Regions from separate parts of the Homo sapiens genome. Here all the other regions are linked to region 3. The links are contacts of gene promoters, found by promoter capture Hi-C in blood cells and fetal thymus (Javierre and others, 2016). All regions are on one chromosome and are shown on one strand. The core of a region is centred on a gene start or on the middle of the fragment in contact, and the rest is flanking DNA. Distances in the headings are between cores, read along the strand shown.

Region 1 (4,999 bases), core at 1,858-4,357, 980 kb before region 3:
CAACTTATTCCTAGGTTCCTCATCTTGGTAAGGATTGTCGCCAAGCATTCACAACTGAAGTCAGAAACTAGGGCTTCTGCTGGGCACAGTGCTTCACGCCTGTAATCCCAGCACTTTGGGAGGCCGAGGTGGGTGGATCATCTGAGGTCAGGAGTTCGAGACCAGCCTGGCCAACATGGTGAGACCCTGTCTCTACTAAAAACACAAAAATTAGCCAGTGGTGGTGCATGCCTGTAATCCCAGCTACTCGGGAGGTTGAGGCAGGAGAATCGCTTGAACCCAGGAGGCAGAGGTTGCAGTGAGCCGAGATTGCGCTACTGCACTCTAGCCTGGACAACAAAGGGAAACTTTGTCTCAAAAAAAAAAAAAAAGATAGATCCACAGCTACCATCTCTTTGGTTCTTTGGTTCATCCACTTCTTTTCCTTTCTTTTCTTTTTTTTTCTTTGAGACGGGGTCTCGCTCTGTCACCCAGACTGGAGGGCAGTGGCTTTGACCATGGCTTACTGCAATTCCACCTCTCGGGTTCAAGTGACTCTCATGCCTCAGCCTCCCAAGTAGCTGGGATTACAGGCGTGCACCACCACACTAGGCTAATTTTTGTATTTTTAGTAGAGATGGGGTTTCACTATGCTGGCCAGGCTGGTCTCAAACTCACGACCTCAGGTGATCCACCTGCCTCGGCCTCCCAAAGTGCTGGGATTACAGGCATGAGCCACCGCGCCCATCCACTTTTTGTCATCTTCCCTGGTCCCTCTGCTCAGCAACCACAGAACTCTGTTAATTCCGTGATTATAGGACAGGTCACTTTACATCAGAGTTGTTTTAGAGCTGGAGTTAAACACTCCAATGGCTTCTAGGACCAGAAAATAACTGAGTGGTGCTGCCAGGGAGTGTGGCACCTTGGAAAGACTCTTTTTGTGTAACAGGAAAGGAGAGCACTGCCCATGAAGAAATGTGGGTTCACTATTTTGCTAGATATTTCTATATCCTTAAGAAAAACCTAAAATAGTTTTAGAGAGAAATACCCTGACTTTTAAATGAAGAAAACTATTCAAACTTAAAATAAAACTGTTGGCTGGGTGCGGTGGCTCACGCCTGTAATCCCAGCACTTTTGGAGGCCGAGGTGGGCGGATCACAAGGTTAGGAGTTCAAGACAAGCCTGGCCAACATAGTGAAACCCTATCTCTACTAAAAATATGAAAATTAGCTGGACATGGCGGTGCTTGCCTGTAGTCCCAGCTACTCAGGAGGCTGAGGCAGGAGAATCGCTTGAACCCGGGAGGTGGAGGTTACGGTGAGCGGCGATCGCACCACTGCACTCCAGCTTAGGCAACAGAGTAAGACTTCGTCTCAAAAATAAATAAATAAATAAAATAAAACTGTTATTGAAGTGTTTAGGGGTAAAGTTTACCAATGTCTGCAACTTACTTTGAAATGCCTCAAAAGATGTATTGGTGGGTGGCTACAGGGATGAGTAGATCCACGATAAAGCAACAGCAAAATATTAATTGTAGCATCATTCTCAATTCCCCCTCAGCTTGGTGATGCATACACGTACAGTTTTTTCAACTGTTCTGTAAGCTTCATTAAAAAATGAAGGGACATTTTTAATTTTTTATTTTTTTTAGACTGAGTCTCACTCTGTTGCCCGGGCTGAGTGCAGTGGCACAATCACGGCTCACTGCAGCCTAGACCTCCTGTACTCAAGCAATCCTCTCACATCTCCCTCCAGAGTAGCTGGGACTACAGGCACACACCACCACACCTGGATAATTTTCTTTTTTCACTTTTCATAGAGATGAGGGTGTCTCATTCTGTTGCCCAGACTGGTCTCAAACTTCTGGCCTCAAGCTATCCACTTGCCTTGGCCTCCCAAAGTGCTAAGATTACAGGCCTGAGCCACTGCACCTGGCTAGAATTTTTTTTAATTGAAAAAGAAGGCCAGGCACGGTGGCTCATGCCTGTAATCCCAGCACTCTGGGAGGCTAAGGCAGGTGGATCACTTGAGGTCAGGAGTTCAAGACCAGCCTGGCCAACATAGTGAAACTTCATCTCTACTAAAAATACAAAAATTAGCTGGGTGTGGTGGTGTGCACCTGTAATCCCAGCTACTCAGGAGGCCAAGGCAGAAGAATCACTTGAACCTGGGAAGTGGAGGTTGCAGGGAGCTGAGATCGTACTACTGCACTCCAGCTTGGGCAACCGGAGAGAAAAGAAAGAAAGGAGAGAAAGAGAGAGAGAAAGAGAGAGGAAGGAAGGAAGGAAGGAAGGAAGGGCGGGCCCATGGGACCTTCTGGGACTTCTGTTACAAATTGTAATGGACTTGATGAAAGTAAGGTGGGGTAAATGAGAACAACATAAAGGACACAGAACGCAGTCCCTAGGACACTTAGTAAGTATCAGGTTTTATTATTATCATTTGGAATGGAGGAAATGGGTACAGACTGGGGGACATGAGTTGTTTTGTTTGTTTGTTTGTTTGTTTGTTTGAGACAGAGTCTCACTCTGTGGTCCAGGCTAGAGTGCAGTGGTAGGATCTTGGCCCACTGCAACCTCCATCTCCCAGGTCCAAGCAATCCTCCCACCTCAGCCTCCCGAGTAGCTGGGATTACAGGTGCCCGACACCACTCCCAGCTAATTTTTCTATTTTTAGTAGAGACGGGGTTTCACCATGTTCGCCAGGCTAATCTCGAACTCCTGACCTCAAGTAATCCGCCCGCCTTGGCCTCCCAAAGAGGAGTCTTAAATGAGTTTCACTGAGGGATTTCAGCAGATTTTCATTACAGTGTCCACCCTGAAAGTGTAGGGGCCAGAGTTCCACGCTGGTTAATCTCTCTTGCTGTGTGAACTTATACCTGTAATTTCCACCTCTGCACCTCACATTGCTTGTTTTGAAACTATGAGAATTGAACTCTAAGGTCCCCTGAAGTTTAGAAGTCCTGCTGGATGAAGCCCCTTTCCTGTTCCTGCCTACATTCTTCTTTCCCTGGACGCCTTACTTACGTAAAAACTACATTTCCCATGAGCACCCACAGGCGTGCACGCAGCGCAGCCCTCCGTCGTCGCTCGCGCCCTTTATACTCACTTCCGCCCGCGAGCCACTTCCTTTCCTTTCAGCGGAGCGCGGCGGCAAGATGGCAGTGCAAATATCCAAGAAGAGGAAGGTGAGCCTCTGGGGACTGGGTTCGGAGAACGACGGCGCCGCGCGGGTCGAGGGCTTCTCGGGGTGCCACCGCGAGGCCTGCAGCTCCGTGGCCTGCCCTGGAAGCGGCCTAGGCTTCCTGGCGTTCCTGCGGGCCGCGGATGGCGGTGGATTGAGTGAGAGGCCCCAGCCAGGAGGGCGCTGTGTGGCCGGGTTCCAAGTGAAGCGCAGAGAGATGGGCACCAGGCGCCCCTTCTGTCCCGGAGAAGGCGTTTGTGAGCATTTGTCGGTCAACGGAATTAGTAAACGTGGTATTTTGAGGGCGTGTGTCATTTCCCTCATGTCTTATCCCGTGGTTTTGGGAAGAGAAGGCAGCAGTGTATTCTTGCCTTAACTGGTCGTTTCTGGGTACAGTCCGCTGGCCCCAGGACCTCAACTTGAAGGGTTGCTGACGGTTGCTTGCTCCGTCTGGGGACCCCGGGAGGAAGCTGCCTCGGATTTAACGCCTTGTCATTACATGGGATAGAACTGTGTAAAAATCATTAGCTTTAAAAATAGACAGTTTGTCATTTCGTATATACACTTCGATGTCAAAATTAAATCCACAACTTCTCGAGAGTTAGGATTTGCCAGCTCTGTTGGTACCGTAAAGCCAAATAACATGGCTGGGATTCTTTAGACGGTGCAGGTTGTGTCTACAAGTGAGAGAGCTTATATGTTAAGTCTACTATCTATTCCTTAACAGTGACAAGTACAGTGTCTTTGCTGTGCTGAATGAAGTGTAAATAGGCCATTAGAGCAGTTTCTTGTTTTGCATGTGGAACTGTTTTAAACCCTTCGATGAAGAGATGATGACGAGTCTGACTTGGGGATGTTCTCTTTGCCCAGGTGGCCTACTCTGTGCTGCGTTCTGTGGCACAGTTTAAAGAGCCCTGGTTGAAGTAATTTCCTAAAGATGACTTAGAGGCATTTGTCTGAGAAGGGTTGCTGCACTCCTGTTGGAACAAGGGTTTGGAACCATTGGTTGGAGGTATTTAGTTTTGGTGAGGGATGCATTGACTAATAAGACTAGACTGGCTCAGGCGAAAGTGAGCCTACACCGATCTCCTAATTTTGAACTTTGCTTTGTTTGGATTAGTTTGTCGCTGATGGCATCTTCAAAGCTGAACTGAATGAGTTTCTTACTCGGGAGCTGGCTGAAGATGGCTACTCTGGAGTTGAGGTGCGAGTTACACCAACCAGGACAGAAATCATTATCTTAGCCACCAGGTAAAACTCATTTGACTGGCCATCACCTATAATTGTTATAAATGCTAAGTTGGTTTATTTATTTATTTATTTTTTTGAGACGGAGTCTTGCTCTGTCCCCAAAGCTGGAGTGCAGTGGCGCGATCTCGGCTCACTGCAAGCTCCGCCTCCCGGGTTCACGCCATTCTCCTGCGTCAGCCTCCCGAGTAGCTGGGACTATAGGCGCCCGCCACCATACCTTGCTAATTTTTTGTGTTTTTAGTAGAGTTGGGGTTTCACCGTGTTAGCCAGGACGGTCTGGATCTCCTGACCTCGTGATCCGCCTGCCTCAGCCTCCCAAAGTGCTGGGATTACAGGCGTGAGCCACCGCGCCCGGCAGGTTTATCCTTTATGAACTTAAGGGGACAGACGGAACAGTGAATCTGGGCTTAGTGAATGTAATTGCTTCTTAAAAGCTAGATTTTAAGGCCAGGCGTAGGATCACTTAAGCTCAGGAATTCAAGATCAGCCGGGGCAACATGGGGAAACCCCCGCTCTACAAAAAATAAAAAAGGGTGTGGTGGTGCATGCATGTGGTCCCACCTATTCCAGAGGCTGAAGCAGGCG
Region 2 (2,500 bases), core at 1-2,500, 610 kb before region 3:
ACTGACTTGCCCAGGGTGAGTGGGTGGGCCATGAGTTCCAGCCCAGGCCTCCTCCACAGGAGACCCTTCTGGAGCAGGCACGAGCCACAGACTGACCTGGGATCTTCCAGGCCAGCAGGAGTCTTGCCTCCAAGAGCACCCTCTCTGAGGAGAGGATGCCAGGATTTACTGGCACCTTCAGTATCCTCCTGGCTTCACTCCTCTTTGCCCAAAAACAAACCACACCTGTTTCTACCTCCCAGCCTTTGCACTTACCAGTCCCCATGTCTCCCCCCATCCCCCACATGTGGCATGCCACTAGCCTACCCTCAGTTTCCTAAAAGGCACTAAGATCTTTCCAGCCTCATGGCCTCACCACATGCTGGGAGCTCTGCCTGGAATGCTTTTCTTTCTACTCTTGGCCAATTCGGGCCTTGGGGCCCAGTAACACGGTTGAGAGATTTACTCCTGTGGCCTTGAGAGGGCTGAACAAATGGAAGCATCTCTAGGTTGCACCAGAGGCATCTATTACCTGCTGCCCTGTGCCTGTAACTTCTGTCATTCTCCTCTCCCCCTGTGAGAACATGATAAAGACCACAAAGGCAGGGAATTCCTCTCCTCTTATGCTGTGACCCCACAGCTATCTCGCTCCAGCTATGCCTAAGAAATCTGTCTTATCACTGACATGCTTGTTGTCCCCACTCGTTCCCTGAGCCTCCATCCAACAAGTCGCTCCACCACATGCTGGTGGATCTCGCTTCCTATGCTCTTCCCTAGATCAGGCCTTCCCTCCATTCCCTCTACCACTGCCGTGCCTTGAGGCTCATCCTCTCTCACATGGATCCCCCGCCCCTACAGCCTCCCCACTGCCCTCCTGACCTACAGCCTCTCCTGTCCATTTCCCATACCATGGCTAAGGACACTTAAAACCCACCTGACCAGCCATTTCCCTACTAAAGCTCTCCCAAGACCCGGCTCCCCCCCAATATCTCAAGAGTGGCACTCCCAAACCTCTCTCAGTTCAAGCACCCGCGCCTCTCACTTCAGCCTCATTTTCCACAGTTGCCTGGGCTCCAGCCACTCCAGGGCCCCCAGCCCTGCCCCAAACATGCTGGCTTTTCTAACACTTTATGCCTATCTTTCTGCTTTGCCCTCACACCTTCCATCTGCAAAATTCCTATTCATTAATGGGCAAACCATTCTGGAATGCTTTCTATGTGCCAGACACTACCTAGGCTCTTTTTATACCTTATCTCATTTACTTCTCAAAGTACCTCACAAAAATAATAATTATTATTCCCATTTTACAGATATGGAAACTGAGGCTCAAGAGAGGCAGGGCAAGAACTGGACTCCTAGTCTATCTGATTCCAAACCTGCTGTGCACCAACCTCTCTGGGAAGTGCACCAGCGCCCCCACTCCCCCAGCCCAGGGCAGAGTCTTCTCTACTCTGTGGTTCCATAGCCCCCTGGTTTCTCGCTTGTCCCGGCCGTTGTCACCAGTGACTGTGTGCGGCTGTCTCTGCTGCCCCCCAGCGTGAGCATCCCAAGGGCAGAACCTGGGCTGATCTGGCTGGGTCCCCAGCACCCAGCAGGGTATAGGTGCTCTGTGAGGTTTCTTAATAAAGAGATGGAAAGCCAGAAGCAGTTTGGGTGGTTGAGATACCCAGCCCTAACCTAACTAATCCTGATACCAGTGACCAAAAGCGGGACCTTCGCATCTTTGCTGCCAAAAGACAGCCCCTCCTAAAGAGTAAAGGCCCGACCCCCTGCACGCCCTCTGCCTGCACCGCACGTGCTTGGTTTTCCCCGCCCGGGTACTGGCCGCCGGGCCGTACCAATCTCCGCGGGGGAGCGCCCGGGGTCGGACTGAGGGAGCGAGGGGAATAACCGGGCGCGCCCCTTGGAAGCAGGGCTCAGAGCTGCTCTCCTCTCACGCATTCCCCGGATCCGCGCGGAGCAGGCTGCTGGCCAGCCCCGGGCCCGCGCCAAGCAGAGCCTCAGGTGCGGTTCCCCCACAAGCAAGTGGCGCGGGCGGCGGCTTAGAACGGCCCGCCCCGCCCGCCGCGTCGGCGCCTGCCCCGTTGTGAGGTGATAAAGTGTTGCGCTCCGGGACGCCAGCGCCGCGGCTGCCGCCTCTGCTGGGGTCTAGGCTGTTTCTCTCGCGCCACCACTGGCCGCCGGCCGCAGCTCCAGGTGTCCTAGCCGCCCAGCCTCGACGCCGTCCCGGGACCCCTGTGCTCTGCGCGAAGCCCTGGCCCCGGGGGCCGGGGCATGGGCCAGGGGCGCGGGGTGAAGCGGCTTCCCGCGGGGCCGTGACTGGGCGGGCTTCAGCCATGAAGACCCTCATAGCCGCCTACTCCGGGGTCCTGCGCGGCGAGCGTCAGGCCGAGGCTGACCGGAGCCAGCGCTCTCACGGAGGACCTGCGCTGTCGCGCGAGGGGTCTGGGAGATGGGGTGAGTGCCACGGCGCAGGGGTTATGGACCTGCGAGAAGATTTTCTGGAAAGGGCCCTGTGGCA
Region 3 (4,854 bases), core at 2,095-4,594:
CTACATCTAACTGCCACTTGTGGTTTTGATTTGAACTTCTCTAATAACGAGTGATGCTCAGCATCTTTTCATGTGCTTTTTAGCCATTTATATCTTCTGTTTAAAGAAAGAAGTCCTTTGCCTATTTTAAAATTGGGTTGTCTTTTTGTTGCTGAATTGTAAGAGTTCTTTATATATTCTGGATACTGGACCCAGATCAAATGTATTATTTGCAAGTACCTTCTTCCATTCTTTTCACTTTCTTGGTAATGTTCTTTGATACACAAAAGTTTAATTTTGATGAAGTCCAATTAGTCTATTTTTCTTTTTACTGCATGTATTTTGGTGTCATATCTAAGAATGTGGTGCCAGCCAAGCACGGTGGCTTACACCTGTAATCCCAGCACTTTGGGAGGCCAAGGCGGGCAGATCACCTGAGATCAGGAGTTCGAGACCAGCCTGGCCAACATGGCGAAACCCCGTCTTGACTAAAAAAAAATACAAAAATTAGCCAGGCATGGTGGCGGATGCCTGCAATCCCAGCTACCTGGGAGGCTGAGTGAGTAGAATAGTTTGTGAACATCGGTGGCAGAGGTTGCAGTGAGCTGAGACTGTGCCACTGCACTGCAGCCTGGGCAACAGAGTGAGACTCTCAAAAAAAACAAAAAACAAACAAGAATGTGCTGCCAAATCTAAAGTCATGAAGATTTATCTGTATTTTTTTCCTAAAAGTTTAATGACATAGCTCTTATATTTAGGCCTTTGATCTCAATAAAAGTATAGGCCATTTGGAGTTCATTTCTGTATATGGTATGAAGAAAGACATCTATTCTTTTTTTTTTTTCATCTATTCTTTCTTTCTTGAGACGGAGTCTTGTTCTGTCACCCTGACTGGAGTGCAGTGGCACGATCTCGGCTCACTGCAACCTCTGCCTCCTGGGTTCAAGCGATTCTCACGTCTTGGCCTCCTGAGTAGCTGGACAGGCACGCACCACTGGGCTCAGCTAATTTTTGTATTTTTTAATAGAGACAGGGTTTCCCTATGTTGGCCAGGCTGGTCTCGAACTCCTGACCTCAAGTGATCCGCCTGCTTAGGCCTCCCAAAGTGCTGGGATTACAGGTGTGAGCCACCATGCCCGGCCTAGACATCTATTCTTGAATGTCTATCAGGTCTCTCAAACCCAAACTTCTAGTATTCCTCTACCAAACCTGCTCTTCCCAGTCTTCCCTATCTCAGCAAATGCTCACGTTAAAAATCTTGAAGTCGGCTGGGCGCGGTGGCTCAGAGCCTGTTCTAGCACTTTGGGAGACCGACACAGGAGGACTGCTTGAAGCCAGGAGTTCAAGACCAACCTGGCCAACATAGATTTTTAAAATCTTGAAGTCGTCCTTAAGTTCTCTTTTTCTTTTACAATCTACCTCCAAACCATTAGCAAATGATGTTGGCTTCACCTTCAAACCATATCTCAAATTTACCATCTCCTCCTCTATTAATCTGGATTATTACAACAGCCTTTTAACTGGTCTTCCGGCTTTCACCTTTGCCTCCCCACAATCTAATGAGCAGCCACTGATCCTGTTAAAATTTAAGTCTCTGCTCTAAACCCTTCAATGACTTCCTATTTCACTCATAATAAAAACCATAGTGCCTTCCAAGACCTACAAGGTCCTACCTAAAGAATTTGCCCCTACCATACACACACCTTTCTGGTCTCATCTCACCTCTCTCCCAGTCCCTCTCCCTGGACTCCTGGTTGCCCTGTCTTTGCCTTCTTTGGAATGCTGCTGCCCAAGGTATCTCCATGGCTGGCCCCTTCACCTGGTCTTTGCTCAAATTCACCTTCTTAGTGAGGCCTTCTCTAATCACTGTATTTAAAATAGCAATTGTGCGTCCCTTGATACTACTTATTCCCCTACCCTCTAACCTTTGTTTATTTTTCTCCACAGTATTTATCATCATCCGACACACTACGTATTTTACTTGTTTATTCCCCCCCCATTAGAATGTAATCTTCATGAAAGCAAGGACTTCGATTTGTTCATCTGTAACCCCCACTGCTCACAACAATGCCAACACAAGTAGACCTTCAATAATTAATTGAACTAATTAATAAATAACATAAATTATAGTCGCCCGTTGCTGCACCTGTTCCCTTACTGGACTGAGAGCTTTCTGCAAGCAGTGACACCCTTATTCACCCATGAACTCCCAGCACCTAACATTTGCGCTCGGCACATAGTAGGCATTGATTTTAAATGAATGAACCAACAAGACAGGCCTATGAAACATCTCAGCCTTTCAAACACAGTCCCTATGCTATCATTCCCTAAATATGTCAGTGTGTGGGGGTTATCCGAAGGAAGAGGTTCCAATACCAATTTCCACGCCCTCACGCGTACACCCTCTGTTATCCCTACAATACCCAAGCGAGAAAATGAGTAACGGTGACAGCCAGAAAATGAATCCTGAACCGTGCAATGACAAGTCCGAAGGAGAAAGCAGTTGCGATGAGATGAAAGAAGGTAGCGGGACTCAAAACAGAAACACTGTCCCGGGGGTGGTGGCAAGGAGAGGGAAAGGCCCCAGTGGCCACAACCATAGAGTCCTGCTCTCTTTTGACAGCTAAGGAAACTAACGCCCAGAGAGGAAAGCGACTCCCCCGAGGTCACACAGCAAGTGAGCCACGGCGAGAACCCACAGCATCCCGCGTCCGCGCGCCGCCCCAGCTCCCTCGCGTTTGGGGTGGTGTCCTCCGCGCAGAGCCCCCACCAGCGCACGTGCTCCGAGGTCCCCGGACGCCCGCCCGCCCACGGCTCGGGGCCGGCTCCCCATCTCGGTCCAACGCTGGGGTCGACGGCAGTGCGCTGCGCCCGCCTCCTGCGCCCCTCTCAGCCAGCCCGGGAGCCCGCCAGGGGCCGGCGGCTGGCAGCGCTCACCGCGAAGGTGGGCCCGGGCCGCCCGCTCTGCGCCCGCCGCTTACCTGGCAGGGTCCCGCGGGAACCTGAAGAAGGCCAAGTCGGACTGCGTGCTCTTCCGCGTGCAGTTGGGGGCAGCGCAGAAGTTCGGCATCGTCGCCCGCCCGCCGGCCGGCCCAGCCCTCCCCTCCCCGCCTCCTCAGGGCAGTCCGCCCGCCCGTCGGGGCCGGGGAGGGGAGCCAGGCCGGCCGGCCGGCTCGGCAGGGCCGACGCGCGGGGGAGGGGCGGGCGGGCTAGAAGCCGCGAGGGCCAGGAGGGGTGCCGCGGTCCGAGGCCGGGCTGGGGACGCGGCTCCACAGTGCTGTGAGCGGCCGGGAGGATTTACCGCCGCCGCCGCCGCTGGTGCACCTCCCGCCCGCCCGAGACGCTGCCGCCTCCTTCCCACAATGCACCCTGACGCCCGGGGGTGCCCTCTCTTCCCTCAGCCTTCCTCCCCCGCCCCTCCTTTCCGCCTTCTCAGCAGGCGGGCACGCGCAAGGAAGCGCGCCTGCCGGGGTGTGGCGAGGCGGAGGCGGGACCTGGCGCGCGCCGCCGCAGTGCGACTGCGCACAGTCTAATCCGCGGGGAGAGAGAATTGCGCATGCGCGCCTGTCTCCCGGGACGCTAGAGCAGGCGGTTCCTGGGCTGCTCCGGTAGGTTTGGCGTGCGCGGGTTTCTGCAGATCTAGGGCGAGCTTGCACGTTACATCACCGATGCATCTCTTCTTGCTTGCTTAATTTGCCACCACTTAGGCCTTTCTTGCAGAATTCGCCATATACTCCTTAAGGGCCGCGGAATCGGAGCGACCTTGGTGACTGGCAAACTCTCGGCAGATGTGCGTGCACTGGTTTGATGCAGACGTGGTTGTAGGCGATTTAATTTTTCCCAGCTTTGCAGCGACTGTTGGCTTCCCAGAACGGATCTCCCCAGCCTCGACTGGAAGCTGAGGGACAAAAATTCATAAAAGCAATTACTCTTTCCCGGCGAGGCTTCTAGAAGAGCAAGAAGAGCGATATGATTACACCTGCAGCCCTATAAAGATTGATCTGTCCGTCTTTCCCTTACAGTCGTGGCCTGTTAAACGTTCCTGTGTTGTTCAGTGCCAGAATGAGTGACCGCTATTTAGAACAAAGGATTAGTATCAAATTTTGCGTGAAATTGAACAAGTCTGCAAGTGAGACCCACCATCTTTTAAAAGAAGCTTATGGGGATGAAGTCATGTCAAGGGCCAGAGTTTTTGACTGGCACAAAAGGTTTAAAGAAGGACGGGAAGATGTTCGAGATGATGCCCGAAGTGGGCGTCCAGTCACCCACCGAACAGATGACAATATCCAGAAGGTCAAGGACTTGGTTTGTTCAAACAGGCAGTTAACCGTGAGGATGATGGCTGAAGAGTTAAATTTAGACAAAGAAACTGTTAGGCTCATTTTGAAAGAAAACTTGAACATGAGGAAGATTTCTGCAAAAGTTATTTCGGGTGTTTTGAAGGGTGAGCCTAAACCACGAAAACTTGACTTTCGGTCCGATCTTTCAAAGGAAACTAGGAAAAATAGCTCATGTTTGAGGAAAAAGGTAACAGGTTCTGAAACATGGAGTTATCTCCAGGGTGAAGCTGGTGGGGAAATGCCCCTGCCGGTATCCCATCCCAGAGTCCACTACTCTGCCAGTCAGCTTCTGCAGGCGTCATCTTCAACAAGCCTTCCCCCCAGGGTAGCTGAGAATTGGTTCACCCCATGGTGAGAGGAATGTGAGTTAGCTGAACCAGAACTAGGATGCTGCCTCACTGTTAGGCACCTTCTTTGGCTGCTCACGTATTTTTCAGTCTTCACCACTCCTCCCTATGTGCCATGGCCCTCCTCATTACTCTTTGCTGGACTCTTGGACCATTTTCCTTGCTGTTCTCCATAACTTTGAAAAACT
Region 4 (4,500 bases), core at 1-2,500, 600 kb before region 3:
GGGGATGCTCAAAGTACACTTGGAGAAAAAAAACCATTGCAAATTGGATGTTGAACCTCTGTCCTTGGCCTCACAGACAGATAGCAAAATTAAATATTTGTACTAGATTCAGATAAGGGACAGGAGTTTGACTGGGGTGGAGGGGATGGGAGAGAACTGGCAATTATGAGAGACTTCCCAAGGCCTAGCCCTTGGACTAGCCTCTTTAGATACTTCATGTGGTCTCCAAAATGACCCCGAGTGCGATACCATTCCCATTGTGTATCTATAGAAACCAGGGCACAGGGGAGCATGCAGACAGCCCAGAGTTACAAAGCCATGAGGTGGAGGGCTAGGATCTGAACCCAGGTCTGTCTGATTCTATAGCTGATGCTCTTCTCATATCTAGAAGGGTACCTGTGGGAGGTGAGGTTTGTACTGGGGACCCCATGACTGGAGAGAAGGGTGACAGTGGACTGACATCTTCCCTCTGCTGTAGGCACTGGATCCAGCATCCTCTCCGCCCTCCAGGACCTCTTCTCTGTCACCTGGCTCAATAGGTCCAAGGTGGAAAAGCAGCTACAGGTCATCTCAGTGCTCCAGTGGGTCCTGTCCTTCCTTGTACTGGGTAAGCTGGGCCTTAGAGGGAGGGCAGGTGGGCAGGCAGTGTCCACTTCCCCAAAAGAGGTAGAGCAGGAGCCCTGCTCTACAGGGGTGAGGGAATAAGAGTAACTCTTACACATGCTGCCCCACAGCACCTTTCCACATCTATCTTTTGGGTCCCAGATCAAGTGCTCTACCCCTCAGCATGCATGAAGATTCAGCAAGATTCAGTGGGAGGTGGTGTGATAGTTCCCATTTACAGATGGGAAACCTCAAGTCTTAGAGAAGATAGGTAACTTGCCCAAGGTCACACAGATTTGAATCCCTGTCTACAGGACCCCCAAAGCCTGTGCCTTTCCCACAATGCCACCCTGCCCACCAACAGACATTTTCCAGCAGGTATGTTACTTTGCCTTAAGGTGGTTTGGTGCCAGGTTTAAGTCCTGAATCTCCTGCAGACAAGCTCTGTGACCTTACACAGGTTATTTGAGCTCTCTGAGTGTTAGTTTCCTCATTTTGAGTGTGAGGAAAGTGCCTGCTTCACATGGCTTTTTTGAGGATTGAAGATAAGAAATGAGAGCACCTGGCACAGGGCCTGGTCATGATGGGCCCCCATTACATGGGAATCATCGGGAGGTGCCCTCAGACCCCACTCCCAGCCCACACCCATCCTCAGCTGAGCACATTCCCCAGGTGCTTCCCGAGGCCTGCTCCCTGCTATCTCTCAGCACAGCCCACATCGGTGCTTTGGTTGCTTTTTCTGCAGGTCTGGCTAGATACCCTCACTCCTTAGGTTGCCATCCAGGCCAGGGGCAGGACAACACGAATGTCTGAGGGGAGGGAAGAAGCCTCTTGTTTTTCCCCAGACCCCTGTGCTCTCAGCATAGCAGGTAGCTTCCTCAGCACGTCAAGGCAGATGAACCTGCTCCAGAGCATCACAGAGTGCATTCCAGTGCCTGTGAGCCAGTCCCTCTGGGCAACCCACTCTTCGGGACTGTATAGGCTGGTAGGGGATCATCAGGACTTACCATGTCAGTGCTGAGCAGCTGTCCTTCAGGCAGGTGCATGGGGCGCTCTGAGACTGAGACCATGTTTGCAGGGCCAAGGGATAGAACTTCACAGGTGAGAAAATGCAAATTCACAAAGGTTCATCAACTACCTGCTACTGTGAAGCTCATTAAATGGCAGAGTTGGGATTTTAGCAGAAACTCAGTGCATTCCCCAGGGAGCCCACATTCCTGGAAGCCCAGAATTAGTGAACTGGGGCTGAAACAGCCAGTCTTCACCTTTAGGCCCAAGAACGGGCTTTGAGTGGGGGGATCCATGAACCCTTAAAATTAGATGCAAGATTATATATGAGTATGTGCACATTTTTCTGGGGAGAAGGGCCATAGCTGTCCTCAAAGTCTTACAGGGACAGGTAGCCTCAAGAAGACAAACACTGGTTGGAAGAACTGAGCAAACTAAACAGTCTCCCTCAGGACTCAGACCCCTAACATGGCTTGCATTTGGCCACTTACTAGAATCCTAGAGTAGTGAGCACAGTGTGACCCCTTCTTGTTAAAAAAGGAAGTGGAGGCCTGGCGAGGATGGAGCCTTACTTGGGGTCACATGAGAAGAAAGTACTGGGACCAGGACAAGAACCCAGGGACTCCAGCCTCCCAGACCCCCTGCCTAGTCTGCTACACCAGCTCTCTTTGTTCCCTGTTGCACCCCAAAGCTACCACTATCCCTGTCTTAATGGGTCTGGGCCTGGCTGGTAGGGAGCTGAGCAGCTTGTAGAACACCAGCTCACGCAGCATGTGATGGGGACTGGCCCCAGGCTATAGGTTAATAATTGATCAGACCCAACCACAGCCCAGAAACCGGCCCAGCATCTTCTCAACACCCTCGCCTGGCCTCACCTCGCCTCGCCTCGCATAGGTGGGAACCTGGCCTCGTTGGACAGGCAGATCTCCTGAGCTACTGCTAATTACTGCCCTCAGCAGCCCCAGCCACTCCTTCCCTCTGCCTCTCAAACCTGCTGGCAGAAGCTCACCTGGCAAGCAAAGACCGTGGTGGCCCTGTTGGTCTCTCCCTGGACCAGAGATTTTTCACCACTTTGTGCCATGGAACCCTCTGTCATTTTGATGAGGCCTATGCCCTTTCTCAGTGTTTTAGAGTATTTAATACAAGGTGCATTGGATTTCAAAGGAAACTACTGATAATAAAATATAAATATCTATACATTAAAAAAGCTGATTAGACATGTAGTAACAGGTGCCTTTTTATTACAGTAAATAAAAAGATCTAGCAGCACATGTAATAATTACTATAGTTCTTAAGTAGTGATGAGAAGAAATGATTTTTTTTAAGATATCTGCAACTGCTACAAAGTTATATGAAAATACCTTTGTTATTTATTTGTGTCATAAGTACTGCTGATAATTCTGTGATTTATTATATTGGTAAGTGAAGGAAATGCCACATTTCCATAAGAGATAAGTGAAAATTTAGATGTCATTTGTTTCCCCATCCAAGTCCATGGATATTGTGTGTCAGGCTGAGTAAGTTCAAACATCATATTTAATTTTCCCAATACCCTGTAAGGAAATTAAGGCTTAGGAATGGGGCTTGGCCAGCAAGTGGCAGGGCCAAGGCTCCAGGTCTGTTTGGTCTCAGAGTCCATGCTCTTCACCAGGCCACACTGCTGCCTTCCCTGCCATTGAGCATCCACAGGCTGCCCTGCACCACAGGCCTCGTGGCTTCAGAATTTTGTATCACAAGTGTCTTTGTAGGCCACCATAATGTGCAGGAAGCAGGTGATGTGTGAAAGTGGTCCTGAGCCTTCCATGTGTGGGGCAAAGCAGGGCCTTCTAAGCTTCTCATGAGCTCAGCAACAGTGGTTTTTACTGCAGCCCCACAACCTAAGAGCATGGAACCAGAGCCTGTTGTTCAGAGGACAAGGATTAGGCTCTGAGAAAGGAAGGTCATTTGGTGGATTTAGTTCATCCTTTTGCTCTTCCTGTGTTTGGTTTCTGGGGCTGGAGAGATTAATCTGACCTGGTTTCTGCTCCCAAGGAGCTCGGGCTGAAGGGCTGTCTGTTAGTGGGAGTCCAATGAGGGAGGCAGATGATGAAAGGGATGGTGAGTGGTTTCAGAGAGGGCTGTGGACACATAGGGGAGGGGAGGGAGCCCCCAGCTGAGAAAGGCCAGGCTAGAATTCAGTCTCTGGATACCCCATCAGGCCTCTTCTTCTCCATCCAGGCTGCCTCAGCAGCAGAGTAAGGACAAGTGGGTAGGGTTACCCCCCTTCCCAGAGAGACCAGCCCTCTAAGCAGTGGGGCCTGGAGCTCAGCCCCCTCTGGTCCTTTTACCCCTCAAGAGAGTTAGAGATTTCTGGAAGCTAGGTTTCCAGGATGCTCAGACCATAGCCTAAACCTCATCGTCCCTATCTGGCCCACCTGGAGCATCCACCTAGAGGATGCCACTAGAGGAGCCTGGATGCCTGTAGAGTCTGGGGGGCTAGAGTCTTCCCTTTTCAGGCCCAAGAAAGGGAATCAGGCAGACTGCTGAACAGTAAGTATGACTTTGTAGGCAGCCTTTAGACATAGCTATTCACCAAGCTACCGTAAGCTTTTCACAGTTTGCTTTTAACAGGCTCTTGTAGGCTGCACATGCTTCCCTAGAAACTTGTCTTCCCTTCTGCGATGTCACACCCCTAAGCTGGTCCTGAAAAATTGGACATCTCGTCACTCTGTATTCACTGTTCCTCCCAACAAGAGAGTTGTACCCTGTTTTTAGCTACCCTGGGGAGAGGCTGGCTCAGGAGTCTAGAACAGGGCTAGATTGGGGGGCAACAAGGGGCTACCATTTCCCTCCCTTTAGGCTCATGGAGAGTCTACATCCAGCCTTATCTTCTCCCATGGGAAACCAAAG
Region 5 (4,334 bases), core at 1,373-3,872, 860 kb before region 3:
GTCCAGGCTTTTTACACACAAAGTATGCTTTCAAGGTACTTGGGTGGAGGTGAGGAGACAGGACATCTTCTAAGCACAGATTTACAATTCAAACAGATGCAGCTTGGCTCCCTGCTCCCTACCTTTGAGCTGTGTGACCTCGGGCAAGATCAGGTACCTCTCTGAGCCCCAGTTTCTAGGGGATAACAGTAGCTACCTCAGGGAGTTTGTGTGAACAAGAGTGTCTATAAAACATTTAGCACATTGTCTGGCTCATAGTAAGTACTCAAGATATCAGCTGTTGTTGATATCATCACTGTAGTATTGTGTGGATACATTTTACAAACTGCAAAATGTTATGGATAGTAGGTATTATTTTTTACTATTACTGCTGAATGTTAAAGATTCAGAGGGGGCATGACCAGAGGGTTGGGTAATCCAGGAATGTTTCTGAGGGAATTTATGACCTCAGTCAGGTCTTGACAGGTGGGGAGGTAAGTGGAGCAGAGGCAGGGATGGCGGTTCTGATGGGAGGAACCACAAACAAAGGGGCTGTGATGGGGCCACATGTGGTGTGTTTAGGAGACAGTGCAGAGCAATGAGCCAGAAGGCCGGGCAGAGGCTAAGGTGACCAAGGACCTGAATGCCATAACTAGGGCCTGGTCTTCATCTTACAGGCCGTAAGGAGCCACAGAGGCTTCTAAATGGGGGCTCCATTAAGCTTTCTGAAATGTGAGTTCTGTCTAACATTCAAGGCCCTCTCCTATATGGGCATTCACCCCTCACTAACCCCACCAAGCCATCCTCCTCGCCCCAAGTTCTCCCTACCTCTCGGCTTACCACGCTATCCCACCTGCCCCGCCACTAGCCCACTAGCTCACACTCATGATGAGGCACCCCCTTGTTGAGTGCCTAAAGTGCCGTGTGTTTCACACATGGGACCTCAAGATGATCCTTAACAGCCTTGAGAAGTGGACATCACAACCGTCATTTCACAAAGGGGGAAATGGAGGCCTGATGGGATCATGTGTCTTTCCCATGCTCTCAGTGAGGCGGTGGCACAGCCAGGATTCCTTCTTGGAGGGATGTCAGGACCCCCCGTCTTTGCAGCAAGTTTCCTCTAGCTCCTGCCCAGACAGCCACCTCCCTGACAAAGCCTTCCTGGTTACTCCAGTCCTCAAGGGCCTCCCCTCCACCCCTTTCTGCCCTGTACCCTCCCCCTTACTCCTCCCCGTCACCACCTCTCTGGAATCAGAGGCCCACTTGATCCTAGCTCAGCTAGCTTGGTTCCCAGTGTTGCCTGTGGGACCATCTGGCCCCCAACAGAAGAGACAGGACATCATCAACCCCAGCTCTCTCCTGTTGGGGGCCAGATGACACTTTCTCCCTGTCCTATCCTGCCTGCCCCCCCATATCCAAGACTGCTAACAGCACAGACAGGAGCCCCCACCTCCTCTGGTAGGGTTCAGAAGCTCACTGAACATAGAGCTATTTCCCTGAGCCTGCCCCCAGCTGAGGGGAGTATTAATTATTCACTGCACCTTGGTGCCTAGGGAGGTCAGACAATGGGCCCGAGGGAATGGACACCAGCTCCAGGCACCACAGCCCTGCCAGCAGGAAGCCAAGGGAGGGGGTAAGAATCCAGAGCCCCTTGCCGGTGTCCCCAAGCAGACTGATTCTAGAGGCTATGAGACTAGGGGAGTGTGACCCACACAGCAGCCTGAGCTGAGCAAATTCAGGTCTCTGAGCCTGCCCTGCAACCATATCCTGCGTTCTAATCGAAGACAAGTCTGAGAATTTCCCCAGACTTCCTGGTCAAACTTCAAGCTTCCTTTTCTTCATAGGGATGGAAACGGATATTTGGCCAGGCACTGCATCTTTGTAGCTCATTTAATCCTCGCAACAACCTGCTAAAGGAGGTATTCTAATTTTATAGGCTCAGAGGGATGAAGTGATTTGCTCAGTGCCACTCAGCTAGTGGGAGGCACAGTAGACTCACGCCCACCTGGTCTGTCTGATTTACCACTATCTGGGATTCACCAGTTACTGTGGCTCGAGGCTGCCGCTTAGCCCGTCTGGGTAACTTCCAGGGCACCTGGTATGCAGCTGGCACTCAAACAGTTCTACAAGCAAACTCAAAGGCCCTGGGGAAGTGGTTTTACCTCTCTGAGCTTCAGTTGCCCACACGAGACTGGGCCATTAATAACCTCCCCAGTCTTGGCAAGTACAACATGCCCCTTAGCACTTGACAGCCAGATGTGATGGCCCCACTAACTGAGCAGGTAACACACAGCCTGCCATAACCTATTTTAAAGTGGCACTTGGAACCATGGATGCATCAAGAGGTCACAAGTGACTCTGCAACCCTCCTCTGCTTCACTCTAGGTTCCAGGCTCTCTCCACGTCATGAAAGGAGATCACAGGTGTGAAATTATTTCATCAAAGAGCTTTGTTTAGACATAGAGATTATTGCGAGGATTTGAAGCCCCAGACAGAGGTCTGGGGTAGAGGGAATCCCAAGCCCCTCAGTCACCTTGTCTTTTGGGATCCCCTAACCCTTCCACCCCCAGGGATTGAGCTTCAGACTTCCACAGACCTCTCACCACGCTCCTCCACCTTCCAGGGGCTTTCCAAGGTGGTTTCCCCTTGACTCCAGGGAGTTGGGCATCTCTAGGGTTAACTAGGCCTAGCCAAGGCCACAGGGCCCAGACCAAGGCCATATCCCCTCCCCGTCCCCACACAGAATAAGAGCCCACAGAGTCCATGCCAAGGGCTCTTTCACAACACCCCTCTCCCTACATGCCTTGGGGGCAGCAGAAGCATCCCCTGCCTGGGAATAAAGACACCTGGGACTGTGCCCCAGCCCTGGGAGCCCCCAGCCTTGAGACCTTGAGCAGGTCCCTTCCTTCCTGGGCAGAGGTATCCTGCAGGTTCCCCTGCCCAGAAGAAAATGAGGTTGGACCTTCCATTTGGGCCAAAGGCAATGCGGTTGCAGGCATTCCTCGGGGCCCCAGCAACCAACCACACTAATTCTCACCACAGCCTCATACATGGTCGCCCAGATCTCACATCAGCGATAGGGAAAGCCCCAGCCACCTATCCAGAAGATCCTAACTGGGGAGGAGTGTGCATACCTTGAAGGATGCTCAGGAAGGTTTTCTCAAGTCTACTTGTGGCTCAAGGACTCACTGGCTTTAGGATCGGACAACTGGCACTCCCTTCGGGTGGGCCTCAGTGTCCCCATTAGTAATGTGAGGGAGGTGAGTCACGTGAGCCACATCTCCAGCCACCCCAGAGGGGCTACATCTCCAGCTCTGACAGACCCTTACTTGGGGATCTCTGCAGTGAATTCACCAACAGATAAGCACGTCTCAGGACCTCCAGAGTGTCTTAGAGACCCTGGAGTCTGACACACAAGGGCCAGGAGCTGCTGCTCTCACATCCTGGGCCCACAGGGAGAGAAGCTTTGGAACTGGGAAGCTTCCCACCTCTACCCTCAACTCTGAGTCACCTTTCCTCGCGGGTGACATGGCCAGGGAGCGGGAGGCAAGAAGAAGCCACTTCCTCAGCTTTAGCATCAGCGCTCAAGTGCTCTGCCTCTTCCCCCTCTATCCTCTCCCGCTTCCCCAGTCTCCTCCCCGCAGTGAAAGGAGGTCACTCAGCCCCGTTAAGCCTCAGTTTCTCCATCTGCAAGCGCCGATAATAATACACAACACCTATTTCAGGAGTAGCAGTGAGGCTTAGGCGGGGCGGGGCGGGGCAGGGCGCGAACCCGCACACAATGGGCGCTCAATAAGTACCCGTTTTCTTTCTTTCCCCTCCCCTTCCCGCGCCCCCTCCCAGCCAGTTCCAGCCTCTGCTTGTTTCCCCTGACACTCCCTCCGCTGGCCCCCGCGCTGCCGCGATGGGGTCGGGGACCGCTCCTGCCGCGCATCCGGGGCTCTCACCTGCAGCCTTGGCTCTCGCAGGCCGCCGGGACAGAAGGGGACCCCTGTGTTATCTTCGGGGCAGGCGCTGAACCCCTCACCTGAGGCGGGACGAAGGTGACAGCCTGGGCTCGCGGCACCAGCCCGGCGGTTCGGTCCGACTGTCCTGCCCGCCTAGGACCCCTCACCGAGCGCACGACCCGGCCAGGGCTTCCCGGGCGCTCGCGCTGTTCCAAGCTGTTCCAACTGAAGGTTGGGGTCTCGTGAAGCCAGAGGCTGGGGGGGTCCGGGGTCCCGTGCACCGGAGGCGAGGGCCTGGGGCCACACTGCGCTAGCCCTGGAGCTGGGGTTCCGACCCTCACTGACGGAAAGGCGCGGAGCGACCCTGCAACCACGGACCGGTACGGCGGCGTTAGGAGCGTCCCGTCC
Region 6 (4,636 bases), core at 1,711-4,210, 560 kb before region 3:
ATTACAGGCATGCACCACTGTTCCTGGCTAATTTTTGTATTTTTGGTAGAGATGAGGTTTTGCCATGTTGGCCAGGCTGGTCTTGAACTCCTGAGCTCAGGTGATCCACCTGCCTTGGCCTCCCAAAGTGCTGGGATTACAGGCATGAGCCACCGCACCCGGCCTCACTTATTCTTAACATCTGCCTTGACATATGGTACATTTGTTAGAATTAATGAATCAATATTTATATATTATTGACTAAAAAAGTCCATAGTTCATTTAGATTTTCTTAGTTCTGAACAACTGTGGCCAGGCCTGGTGAGTCATGCCTGTAACCCCAGCACTTTGGGAGGGTGAGGCAGGAGGATTGCTTGAGGCAGGAGGATTGATGTCAAGGCTGCAGTGAGCCCTGATTGCACCACTGCACTCCAGCCTGGAAGACTGTGATTAAATGTGATTAACTATATGTACAACATAAAATTTGCTGTTTAAATAATTTTTAAGTATACAATATAGTGGCATTAAAAACATACTTAATGTTATACAACCATCATCACTGTATATTTCCAGAATGTTTACATCATCCCAAACAGAAAACAACTCCCCATTCTCGCCTCCTACCAGCCCCTGGTAAATTCTGTTCTACTTTCTGTCTCTATGAACTTCACTATTCTGGGTACCTCATATAAGTGGCATTATACAGTATTTGTCCTTTTATGTTTGGCTTATTTCACTTTGCAATGTTTTCAAGGTTCATCCATGTTGCAGGGTATGTTAGAATTTCATTCCTTTTTTAAGGCAGATGGTATTCCGTTGTATGTATATACTACATTTTGTTTATTCATTCATCTCTTGATGGGTCCTTTGTTTGTTTGCTAATTTGTTTTGAGACGGGGTCTCACTCTGTTGCCCAGGCTAAAGTGCAGTGGCATGATCATGGCTCACTGCAGCCTTGACTTCCTGGGGTCAAGTGATCCTCCCACCTCAGCACCCCCGCAAGTAGCTGAGACTACAATGGCATGTGCCTCCACGCCCAGCTAATTTGAAAATTTTTCGTAGAAATGAGTCTCACTCTGGTCTCAAACTCTTGGGCTCAAGAGATCCTCCTGCCTTGGCCAACCAAAGCAGTGTTGAGATTACAGCATGAGCCACCACACCCAGCCAACCCTTAGTTTTTACCTGATGTCCTTCTTCCGTGCCAGGATCCTGTCTGGATACCACATTGTATTTAGTTGTCCTGTCTCTTGCCTCCTCTTAGCTGTGGCAGTTCCTCAGACTTTCCTTGTTTTTGATGGCCTTGACAGTTTTGAGTATTGGTCAGGTGTTTTGTAGGATGCCACTCTTCTGGAATTAGTCTGATGTTTTTTCTTATGATTAGACTAGGGTGGTGGTGTTTTGGGAGCAAGACTTAAGAGGTAAAGTGCCATTTTCATATATTACGTACATATTATTAACATGATTTATCACTGTTTTTTTTTTTTTTTTTTTTGAGACAGAGTTTCGCTCTTGTTGCCCAGGCTGGAGTGCAATGGCACAATGTCAGCTCACTGCAACCTCTACCTCTCAGGTTCAAGCAATTCTTCTGCCTCAACCTCCTGAGTAGCTGGGATTACAGGCACCCGCCACCATGCCCAGCTAATTCTTCTATTTTCAGTAGGACGGGGTTTCACCATGTTGGCCAGGCTGGTCTTGAACTCCTGACCTCAGGTGATCCACCCACCTTGGCCTCCCAAAGTGCTGGTATTACAGGCATGAGCCACCATGCCTGGCTGATTTATCACTGTTGATTCTAACTTTTATCATCACCAGCTGTGGTAGCATATGATAGGAAAGGCAAACTAGCTGTTTTCTCCTATTACACTGTTATACTATCAGCATAACCCTTCTGACATTAGATGTGTGGGGCTTTTTCCCCACACACCAAGCGATCCTCCAGTGAACACCAATATGGTGTCCTATGATTCAATTCAATTCTGCCACAATCTCCTTAGAGTTAGTATCATATTCCACAAGTTAAAGGCTCAGACCCATAAAACTGTCCCCTACTTCACATGCCAGACGTAAGTCTGGGTCTCTGGAACTTCTTACCGACTGGCTATAAATTGGGGGTTCCTATGTTCCCCTCCTCAGGCTCAGTCATTTACTAGAGCAGCTCACGGAACTCAAGAAAGCACCTTGCTTGCACTTACTGTTTTTTTTTTTTTTTTAAATAAACAATATTACACAGGATACAGACGAGCAGCCAGATGGAAGATATCATAGGGAACAGTATGGGGGAAGTGGCCCAGAGCTTTCATGCCCTCTCATGGCAGCTCCACCCTCCACATGTTCAGCAACCCAGAAACTCTCCAAAACCTGTAGTTCTGTGATTTGTATGGAGGCTTCATCATGTAGGCATGATCAATTATTAAGTCAGTCTTCAGCCCCTCTCCCCTTCCTGGAGGATGGGGAGTGGGGCTGAAAGTTCCAAGCTTCTGATCATGGCCTGGTCTTTCTGGTGACCATTCTCCTTCTAGGAGCTCACCAAGAGTTGTCTCATTAGAACAAAGGATGTTCCTCACCTAGGAAACGCTGAGGGACTAGGCGTTGTGTCTGGAACTGGGGTCAAAGACCAAATATGAAAAGTAAAGATTCTCCTAGTACCCCTATGGCACCCAGGGAATGACAGAGGTTTTAAGAGCTCTGCACCAGGAACTGTGTACAAAGACCAAAGTATATATTTATTATTGTAAATTGAAGGGCCACAGGTAGTGTTTGTCAGGTTTCTCTGCTATAAGGTTACTCTTCCTCCCCTTCCCTCTATACTGTAGTCTTTGGAAGGAAGTCACTATGTGTAGTCCACACTTGAGTGAGATCTGTGCTCCCCCTTCTTGAGGGTAGAGTATCTACATAAATTATTTGGAATTTTTCTGTATGGGAGATTAAATCATGGCTCATTTCAGCCTCTAACTCCTGGACTCAAATTATGTGCCTCAGCCTCCCAAGTAGCTGGGACCACAGGTGCACACCACCATGCCTGGTTCATTTTTTAATTTTAATTTTTGTAGAGACAGAGTCTTGCTATATTGCCCAGGCTGGTCTCTACCTCCTGGCTTCGAGCAATCCTCCCGCCTTGGCCTCCCAAAGCATTGGTATTACAGGCATGAGCGACTGCACTGGGCCGGTAACTTAAAGTCACACAGAGTGTCAACAAAGGGACTACAATCTAGGTGTTTCCTGTTTGCCCTAGACACCCATTCTTTGCAGGGTTCTGGTGAAAAGTTTTAAGTACCTCAGAGTTTGGGACCATCAGGCTTTATATTTTATTTCCTACAGCACTTGTGCCTAACACTGTGCTGATGATTTAGTAGGAACTCATGTACAGTTTTTTTGTTTATGAGTCTTTCCCTTGAAGAACTTTACAGCCTAAAGAGAACAAGGAAAGATTGGATTCAGTGGTATTGAAACCCATGCAAAAAAACATGATAGAAGCAGAAAAGTAGATCTAAAGCTTGATTTTGCTGTATAGGATAAATATTTTCCCTTTCTGTGTTTATGTTTATTTGGATACCCTACTTTTGCTAATCTAATTTAATCATTTTTCTATTACTAAAAAAAAAATCAGCTTTATTGGCAAGGCCGTTCATCTTATCAGGAACATGTGCCTCACGCAATGCACTACCATGCCGTGTACATTCATTCCTTCTGCAAATATTTACTAAGCCCCTTGTAACTCGAAGAAAAAATGTAATATATAGTTGAGTATCTAAAAAGTAAAATGATGGCAATTTTTTGTGCTGGTTTGGCTCTTATAAATAAAATGATATGAGGAAGCCTCAGAAACTTAAGATATCAGCATCTTGAAATCATTATTTTTATGTGACAAAATGCTATTAGGAATTTATGTTTTTTGTTTGTTTCTCTTTTTCCTGTGAAAATGAGTTTTTTTTTTTTTGAAAGGAAAAGCTATGTTTATTTAGTGTTTACTTTAAAATGTCTCTACAGGATCACAATTCTTTGTGGTAGAAAATTCAGAAGTGAAACTGACTAGAAATAGAGCACAAGCAGAATTGAAACTAATAAGTTGGGCCTGAAGTGAAACGTATGGTAGAATGAAAAAAAATTAGATTTTCATAGTTTCCAAATGTGTATTTTTGATAAGCTGTGTATTTTTACCTGTCAGACATGTTACTGCTGGGGAGAAAAAGAAGTTTGTCATTTTTTTTTTTTTTTTTTTTTTGAGGCGGAGTCTCACTCTGTCGCCCAGGCTGGAGTGCAGTGGCACGATCTCGGCTCACTGCAAGCTCCGCCTCCCGGGTTCACGCCATTCTCCTGCCTCAGCCTCCCTAGTAGCTGGGACTACAGGCGCCTGCCACCACGCCCGGCTAATTTTTTGTATTTTTAGTAGAGATGGGGTTTCACCGTGTTAGCCAGGATGGTCTCGATCTCCTGACTTCATGATACGCCTGCCTCGGCCTCCCAATGTGCTGGGATTACAGGCGTGAGCCAGCGCGCCCGGCCAAGTTTGTCATTTTCAACGTACTGGAATGTGTACAGCTACAAACTGAAGGTGTTTTAGAAAAAGACATCTGTCTTATGAGAGAGGTTGAAACATTTTAGGTTTATGCTTTGTTTTAGGTTTAATGACATAAGTAATGTCTTTTTTTTTTTTTTG

What was found. The method cuts DNA at HindIII sites, captures the fragments that hold promoters and counts their contacts. A CHiCAGO score of 5 or more calls a contact.
Region 1: a contact is called between the fragment with the promoter of RPS3 here and the fragment with the promoter of THAP12 in region 3, in 2 of 17 cell types (neutrophils and erythroblasts). The highest score is 8.7, in neutrophils.
Region 2: a contact is called between a fragment that was not itself captured here and the fragment with the promoter of THAP12 in region 3, in 2 of 17 cell types (neutrophils and fetal thymus). The highest score is 5.9, in neutrophils.
Region 4: a contact is called between a fragment that was not itself captured here and the fragment with the promoter of THAP12 in region 3, in 1 of 17 cell types (neutrophils). The highest score is 5.4, in neutrophils.
Region 5: a contact is called between a fragment that was not itself captured here and the fragment with the promoter of THAP12 in region 3, in 1 of 17 cell types (fetal thymus). The highest score is 5.1, in fetal thymus.
Region 6: a contact is called between a fragment that was not itself captured here and the fragment with the promoter of THAP12 in region 3, in 3 of 17 cell types (naive CD8 T cells, naive CD4 T cells and non-activated CD4 T cells). The highest score is 6.2, in naive CD8 T cells.

Annotation. Positions count from the first base shown.
Region 1 is chr11:75,396,411-75,401,409 of GRCh38, forward strand. It overlaps RPS3 (ribosomal protein S3), which reads left to right and starts at 3,108. Exons shown (of 7, transcript NM_001005.5): 1 at 3,108-3,167; 2 at 4,284-4,414. The coding sequence starts at 3,138. SNORD15A (small nucleolar RNA, C/D box 15A) reads left to right here and starts at 3,981; the gene lies at 3,981-4,128. RefSeq lists enhancers at 3,085-3,444, 3,671-4,534. The HindIII fragment of the contact is 4,256 bases long and covers 1,583-4,999 here.
Region 2 is chr11:75,766,677-75,769,176 of GRCh38, forward strand. It overlaps DGAT2 (diacylglycerol O-acyltransferase 2), which reads left to right and starts at 2,102. Exons shown (of 8, transcript NM_032564.5): 1 at 2,102-2,436. The coding sequence starts at 2,316. DGAT2-DT (DGAT2 divergent transcript) reads right to left here and starts at 1,971. Exons shown (of 4, transcript NR_046090.1): 1 at 1,818-1,971. RefSeq lists enhancers at 1-98, 1,405-1,905 and silencers at 1,992-2,101, 2,182-2,421. The HindIII fragment of the contact is 4,152 bases long and covers 1-2,500 here.
Region 3 is chr11:76,377,788-76,382,641 of GRCh38, forward strand. THAP12 (THAP domain containing 12) reads right to left here and starts at 3,345. Exons shown (of 5, transcript NM_004705.4): 1 at 2,961-3,345. The coding sequence starts at 3,049. GVQW3 (GVQW motif containing 3) reads left to right here and starts at 3,536. Exons shown (of 2, transcript NM_001347885.2): 1 at 3,536-4,506. The coding sequence starts at 4,042. RefSeq lists an enhancer at 2,550-3,051 and a silencer at 2,694-3,623. The HindIII fragment of the contact is 4,414 bases long and covers 1-4,133 here.
Region 4 is chr11:75,784,140-75,788,639 of GRCh38, forward strand. It overlaps DGAT2 (diacylglycerol O-acyltransferase 2), which reads left to right. Exons shown (of 8, transcript NM_032564.5): 2 at 479-607. Among named protein-coding and RNA genes, the nearest start is that of DGAT2, 18 kb to the left of the region's middle. RefSeq lists a silencer at 2,305-2,599. The HindIII fragment of the contact is 4,380 bases long and covers 1-3,440 here.
Region 5 is chr11:75,521,284-75,525,617 of GRCh38, forward strand. GDPD5 (glycerophosphodiester phosphodiesterase domain containing 5) reads right to left here. Exons shown (of 17, transcript NM_030792.8): 1 at 3,927-4,334. LOC105369389 (a long non-coding RNA gene) reads left to right here. Exons shown (of 6, transcript XR_007062784.1): 6 at 1-574. Among named protein-coding and RNA genes, the nearest start is that of GDPD5, 2.5 kb to the right of the region's middle. RefSeq lists enhancers at 2,032-2,081, 4,009-4,334. The HindIII fragment of the contact is 1,637 bases long and covers 1,805-3,441 here.
Region 6 is chr11:75,820,491-75,825,126 of GRCh38, forward strand. The region is part of intron 1 of UVRAG (UV radiation resistance associated); the gene reads left to right. Among named protein-coding and RNA genes, the nearest start is that of UVRAG, 7.6 kb to the left of the region's middle. RefSeq lists an enhancer at 3,926-4,005. The HindIII fragment of the contact is 1,019 bases long and covers 2,452-3,470 here.